2 separate regions of the Homo sapiens genome follow, and region 2 is linked to region 1. Evidence: promoter capture Hi-C in 16 types of primary human blood cells and fetal thymus (Javierre and others, 2016). All regions are on one chromosome and are shown on one strand. The core of a region is centred on a gene start or on the middle of the fragment in contact, and the rest is flanking DNA. Distances in the headings are between cores, read along the strand shown. Region 1 holds the start of LOC124903555 (a long non-coding RNA gene). Region 2 holds the start of NGRN (neugrin, neurite outgrowth associated).

What was found. Contacts are between HindIII fragments. The CHiCAGO score rates a contact against its expected background, and 5 or more counts as called.
Region 2: a contact is called between the fragment with the promoter of NGRN here and a fragment that was not itself captured in region 1, in 1 of 17 cell types (naive B cells). The highest score is 5.4, in naive B cells.

What each region holds. Positions count from the first base shown.
Region 1 is chr15:90,595,603-90,598,913 of GRCh38, reverse strand. All of the region lies in intron 3 of CRTC3 (CREB regulated transcription coactivator 3), which reads right to left. It overlaps LOC124903555 (a long non-coding RNA gene), which reads left to right and starts at 2,936. Exons shown (of 2, transcript XR_007064758.1): 1 at 2,936-3,023. RefSeq lists enhancers at 423-717, 2,885-2,954. The HindIII fragment of the contact is 4,338 bases long and covers 1-3,311 here.
Region 2 is chr15:90,264,078-90,267,388 of GRCh38, reverse strand. It overlaps NGRN (neugrin, neurite outgrowth associated), which reads right to left and starts at 1,717. Exons shown (of 3, transcript NM_001033088.3): 1 at 1,513-1,717; 2 at 991-1,101. The coding sequence starts at 1,676. TTLL13 (tubulin tyrosine ligase like 13) reads right to left here. Exons shown (of 15, transcript NM_001396017.1): 15 at 1,912-2,669. The coding sequence ends at 2,422. It also overlaps a transcript of CIB1 not described here. RefSeq lists enhancers at 763-1,733, 1,527-1,756, 2,117-2,246, 1,734-2,705. The HindIII fragment of the contact is 8,147 bases long and covers 485-3,311 here.

The DNA of each region.
Region 1 (3,311 bases), core at 574-3,073:
AGCTTTAGGAGGCGCTTCCTAAGAGCCTCAGGGCCAGTGCCCGTCTTCCTGGTAGAGAGCCCCTGTCCTCCATGCTCGCCTTGGCCAATCGCATCCTTCCCTCGGCCCCACTGTCACCCACAGTCCAGTAACTCATAAATCGACACCTCCAGCTCCCAACAGTTCTTTTGTGAACTCCAAGTGCATACTTCCAACTGCCTACTCAAGTTCTCTGCCAAAAGTACCCAAGACAGCTCAAATTCTACCAAAAATCCAACCAATCACTGTCCCCTTAATCTGTTCCTCTTCTTATAGTCCATCTCATTTAGTGAGGCCACCGTCCACCAAGACACTCATGTTAGGATCTCAGAGTCATCCCAGTGTGTTCTCTCTCTCCCCAAGCCTCTGCAGTTCTGTGCAGGAAAATCTTCCTCCTCGAGTTACTGCCTCAATCCATCAACACAGGGACTGCTGTTCCTCTCAACCTGTGGAGTGTTAGAGGGAACAGTTCTTACTCTTCACCAAAGGAAGGGGAGCAGCTCTTCTTCTTCTGATAAGAGAGGACATCAGTTGGCCAGTTTACCAGTGGGTGGGGTTACTGAGCCACAGAAGCTGAAAACAAGACCCGCCCTGGCCCTTTCTTTGTGCTGCTTGACCTGCGGCTGGGTGAGCAGGCCCAGGGTTCCCTTCTCTTGGCTTCCCGTCCCTGTGCGGTCAGTGTACCTGGGCAGGGCTCAGGAACTGCCTTGTCGGGGCAGCCTGGAAGCCAGTCATTTCTCTCCTGCTCTGGAACTCTGTGTTCTGCCAGGGACACAGTTTGTGGGGCAGGCCTGAGACCTTCCATGTAGCTGGTGGGGTAAGTGGGCTCGGAGTCTGGTTAACAGAACCCACCTACCAAGACAAGTTTCAGGGTCAGATTTAATATATAAAACTGGCCACAATTTGGCTCCTTCCTGATTGCTCAGCCATGTGTTTATTGTCATTCTACTTCTTTTTGTCCCTTTACCTCTAACTATGTCCCACTAGAAGACATCTTAAAGTGAAACTGTAAGGGAGGATATGAGTGGCATCTTTTTGAGTCCTTGCATTTATAAGAACATCCTGTTTCCCTCAGCAAATGAGAGGCAAACAGGTTGCATGTGGTATTGTGAAGTCAGAATATTTCCCCCTTAAAATTCTAAAGACCAATGTTTCCTTGTCCTTCAAGATAAGACGGGTGTTAGGTAACAGTTGGATTTTGTGATCACTTAAGTTTTGAAATTCTGGGTTAAAGATAAGAAGTTTATTAACTGCAGGACTTTTCAGAGCCCTGATATATACGGTCAGGCTCCAAGAGGTGATACAGAGTATGGTGTTTCTCAAATGTAATAGGCCATGCATCTCAAAGAAACAGTGTCCTATAAACCAATGTCCTAACATTTTCATCTCATTATGATGAAAAGAATCAAAGCAAGGCCCAGCCCAGAGAGGAGAATCATTCCTAACTCTAGTAGGTCTTAGGCATCTCTTCACGACCCTTCACGCTGGTGAACTCTTGACTTCCTTTCAAGGAAGGCATTTCGTGTTTCCTTCTGAGCGTGTCATCCACAAGGCTGAGAAAATATTTTATTTGCTATAAATTTATGTTAATAGTTCAGAAGTTTAGCAATGGTGTTTGGGACACGGCACGTCTGCCAACCTTGATGAGTGAGAGTAAGAAGGGCTGCTACAGACTGCACATCTGCAGAAGGGCAGAAGAGCTTCTCTTCCAAGTGCCCGAGCCCAGGCCCCCAGCCAGGAGCAAGCCCTGGCAGTGCCTCTCCTCCGCCTGTGTGGGGCTAGGCCAGGGCCCAGCTGCAGCTGTGCCTTGGTCTTGTGTGGCCACCCATGCCAAGGGCAAAGCCCACTCCAGAAGGAATCTCCTGTGGCAGAGCTCTGCGTGCTGTGGCTGCCCACTCTGAGAGGAGGCCAGAGTATTTGTTAAACAATGTTCGTTTTATTTGAGATCACCCTATCATAGGAGTGAACCCTTAAAACCCTTGTCTAAGCCAGTGTGTCTTAAATAACACCCAAGCCAAGAAACAGCTATAATAATTCTGATTTTTTCCTTTTGTTCTAACAAAGATTCAAACTAGTGTTTTATACTTTCAAATGAAGAAACTTCATTTAAAAAGTCATAGACAAATGTTCAAGGCCACAATTTTAAGCAGATTATTTCACAACCAACAGAATGCAGGTCGTGAAAGCAAAGACGGAATCACAGCCCTCCTCCTCCAAGTGGAATAGATTAACACCAAAATAAAATCATCCCATTTCACGGACCCTTGATTCCTCAAAAGAGACTGGGCTAAAGAACTTTCTTTGCATCAACCGATGTCCAGTCCCAGGAACCCAATTTAGGAGCTTAGGAGACCACAGAGACATGGCTCATGATCAGTGAATCTGACTCATACTGTCTAATAACTTTAATTTCTCTGCATATTAACTTGGTTTTTGTTTCTCCTTCCTTTAGGAGTTGACTAGCTTTGCTTATGCTCTCAAGTTGATCCATACAGTGCCAGATTATACCCTATCATAAGAGATAGGGTCCCCTGAACACAAGAAGTCATCTCCCCTTCTGGGTAGGACTTTGCACCACATTCTCTTCCCTCTGCCTGGAACATACCTCCCAACTGCTTTACTCTCTTAAATCTCACTCATTACCATCTAAAACCATTTTCCTTTCTTATTGCCTGTTTGCTGTCATCTCCCACAGGACTGTGAACTCAAGAAAGCAGGAAGTATGCCTCCCTTATTCATCACTGGGTCCCCAGTGCTTAGAACAGTGCCTGGCACAGAGACGGGGCTCTGTAAAGATCTGCTGAATGAACACTTTATCCTCTTACTTCTTATCCTTCAAGCCTCAGATGTTCCCCCAGGATGCCTTCTTCGTTTCCCCAGACTAGTTCAAGCTGCACCTCCGACGTGCTCCCACAGCCCCTGAGCTGCCTCCCTGCAGACGCCATACCTGCCGTGGCTGCTTGTTTGCTGAGTAGCCTCTCCCACTGAACCCTGGGCAACTTGAGGTCAGGGACCATGCTGTTTACTGTTACAGTGAATTAAAATGTCTAAAACGGTGTCTGACCACTAGCACATACTTAACAAATAATTTTTATAAGTGAATAAACATTCTCCTCTTTTTTCTTCAATTCCCTTCTCTATTTTGGTTAGTAAAACTATATGCATGCTTATACATTTAGACCGTACTTCAAAAGTATCTGAGATAGCCACATATACATACACACACGTATATATAGCATAATGTTTAATCTAATATATAGAAATGAGAGCACTGACAGGAAAAAGAGGGAACT
Region 2 (3,311 bases), core at 468-2,967, 330 kb after region 1:
GCTCACTCAGGGCACAGAGCCTAGTTTTTGGTAGAGAAAAACTATTAAAAATAGTACAGCTGCACACAGTGGCTCATGCCTGTAATCCCAACACTTTAGGAGGCTGAGGTGGGATGATCGCTTGAGCCCTGGGAATTGGAGACTAGCATGGGCAACATGATGAGGCTATCTCTACAAAAAATAAACAAAATTAACCAAGCATGGTGGCATGCACCTGTAGTCCCAGCTACTTGGGAGGACGAAGTGGGAGGATGGCTTGGGCCCAGGAGGTAGAGGCTGCAGTGACCGGTGATCACATCATTGTACTCCAGCCTTGGCGACAGAGTGAGACCCCCAACTACCAAAAAAAAAAAAAAAAAGTACCCACAGGAGAGTGGGTGGGACAAATAATTCTCAATGTGTATACCATGTTATACTGTTAGGTTGAGCCATATGTAATACTTTACCTACTCAAAACAAAAAAACTTAAAAACTCTTTTAAGCTTTCCTAAATTATAGATCCTGTCTTCAGAAAAATGCACCTACCTATGGAAGCACCAGCATCCCTGTACCTTAGGTTGGGAACGTCACAACCTACATTCAAGGGTTAAATGTTGTGATGTCTGCGATTTACTATTTAAAAATTTCAGTAAAAATGAACCAACCACGTCATAACGTTAAAAACTATTAAAACCAGGCGGGGCGCAGTGGCTCATGCCTGTAATCCCAGCACTCTGAGAGGCCGAGGCGGGAGAATCACTTGAGGTCTGGAGTTCGAGGCGATAGCGAAACCCCGTCTCTTTAAAAAACAAAACAAAACACTATTAAATCTAGATAATGACAGGGTTAGGGAAGTTCGTTATATTACTCTACTTTTCTGATAATAAATTTCAACGACAAAAAGTAAACGAAAATATAAAAGCAGTATCAAAAAAGCCAAACCCGTTTCTGGGCTCCAGCATCCTTCACTTCTCATCACAGCGGATACAAACAAGGTATCCTGAGTCTCACCGTATCTGCTCCATGGCTTCCCACGTCAGGGTCCTGGGCGGGGCACCAGGCGCCTCCATTTGCCTCCGAATTTTCTGGAATCGGATTGCTTGTTTCTGTCGTTTCAGGGTGCTGGGGGAAGAGAACCAATGGCAGAAGCCATGCGTGGAAGCAGAATGGATGTTTGAAGAGCCTCAGGCTAAATCATGGAGCGCCCAGCCCTCTTCTCTTTGATCGCAAGGGCAACCGGGCCATGTTGCCGGCTTAGAGCTGCTCCGTACACCCAGAAAGCTAACACCTAGAACAATAACTGCCTGTAAGCATGCCGAACTCTCTAAACTGATGATGAAATACGTCACTAATGAAGGGACCAGTGGTCCCAGGGGAGCTGAACACCTGACGCTGCGCCCCTAACAACGGGTAAGAAGAAACAAGGGCCGCTGCGCAAGCAGCGGCAGGACACCCGGCGCCAAGGGGGCGCGGCCTGGAGCGCCGGGGCACGAGGCCCTGCTTCAAGCTGAGGGCCCGGGGAGAAGCCGGTACCTCTCCACCTCCTGCAGCTCCCGTTCCTCCGGCTCCCAGTCGGAATCGGGGTCCGGCTCCCGGCCAATAGGGCCTGGGCCCGCCACCCCCCGGGTCGCGAACCCACAGCGAGTGACGGCGGCGCAAACGCGCCCGCCCAGCAAGAGACTCAGGGTAACCGCCATGTCGACGCAAACCAGCCTTCAGCAGTCGGCTACGAAACAGCAGCGGAAGTAGCCGGGTAAGACCGGAAGTGGAAGGGGCGGGCCGGAGGCTGGGTAGTAGCAAGTTATTTCCCGCTTCACTTGGTGGGGGTAAGATCTGGGCTCACGCTGCTCAGTGGCCCACCCTTTCTGCCTGTAACTGTGGAGAGGGCTTCCCTGAAACGTGAGGGCCGAAATGAGGTACAGGACGCTCCTGGAAAACTGCATAAACTTTAATTAAAGTACGGATTCCGTTTCCAAGAGCCGTCCCTCCGCCCCAGCGGCTGCCCAGGCCTGCCTGTCTCCGCCACCTCGGTGGGCAGGGCTTCCGCTCGGCAGTCTTCTGACGGCGACAGCCCAGTGCCTTGGGCACTCGGCTTCTCTGGGAAAGGGGCTCATTGTCTCCTGGATGGCCTCCAGCCCCGGGCCGCACCTAGGGTTCAGACCCATCACCTAGCGATAAACCCAGGCTAAGGCTTGATGAGCAGAAATGAGTACATGGCTGGCCTTGGCGCCTCTTCATCTTCTAGTCTTTACCGATCCCCAATTAATCTTAGGGTATTGAGGAATTCTTGGTGTCTTTGTATTTTGCCTTATACAAATGGGGTTCCTGGGCAGGGCTTTTCAAAGTGGAACTTGGTGGCAGTCATTCATTTAGCAAAGATTTAATGCCCTTTGGAAACCTGGGGAGGTTATCCAGGAGAGGTAGAGTGCTTCCCTCCTGCTTTTACCTGAACTGATTGATGTTGAGGAGTGCTCTGGAACGCTGCAGCATGGGTGCAGACGCAGGGCAGAGGGGAACCTTGGCTGCTCTGTGTTCAGAGTTTACCATGGAGGGCAAGGTGCATTCAGTCCATGAGTCAGATGCCACTCTTTCCGGTTGCAGAAAATAGCCCTGCTTTGGGGTTAAAGTGGGTGGCACTGATCCTGCCAGGACTCGGTTTATGGCTTCTAGCCTTCTGCTGGCTTGTCCTTCTGCAGTGGAAACATGGATGTCCCTGAGTTGGTATTCACAGAAGAGATTTGTTCACCTCTTTCCCAACTGTGGCCCAATTACCAACACAGAGGAAGGGCATCTCATGCTTCCCTCCACTGTCTTTCCCACACTGTATTGTAATTGGTATGGTATGTCTTTTTGTCCATGTTCCTATTACCTCTTGAGTGCTGGGACTGTATTTCTGCCATTTCTATCACCAGGGTCTAGTGTACAGAAAGGATTAAATAGGCCTGGTGCGGTGGCTTACACCTGTAATCCTAGCACTTTGGGAGACTGATTCAGGTGGATCAGGAGTTCAAGACCAGCCTGGGCTACGTGGCAAAAACAAAATATACAAAAGTTAGCCGAGCATGGTGGTGTGTGCCTATAGTCCCAGCTACTCAGGAGGCTGAGTCAGGAGAATTACTTGAGCCCGTGAGTGGAGTTTGCAGTGAAGTGAGATCAAGCCATTGTACTTCAGCCTTGGCGACAGAGCGTGACCTTGTCTCAAAAAAAAAGGAGTAAATAAATGGGTACCCTAACTTCCCCATTCTTACACTGGTGGAAGTGCCATATTATATTTTAGGGGCATCCAAGCTCTATGCTTGCTAGTGGGATTTACATATGTCAAAATGACCAAA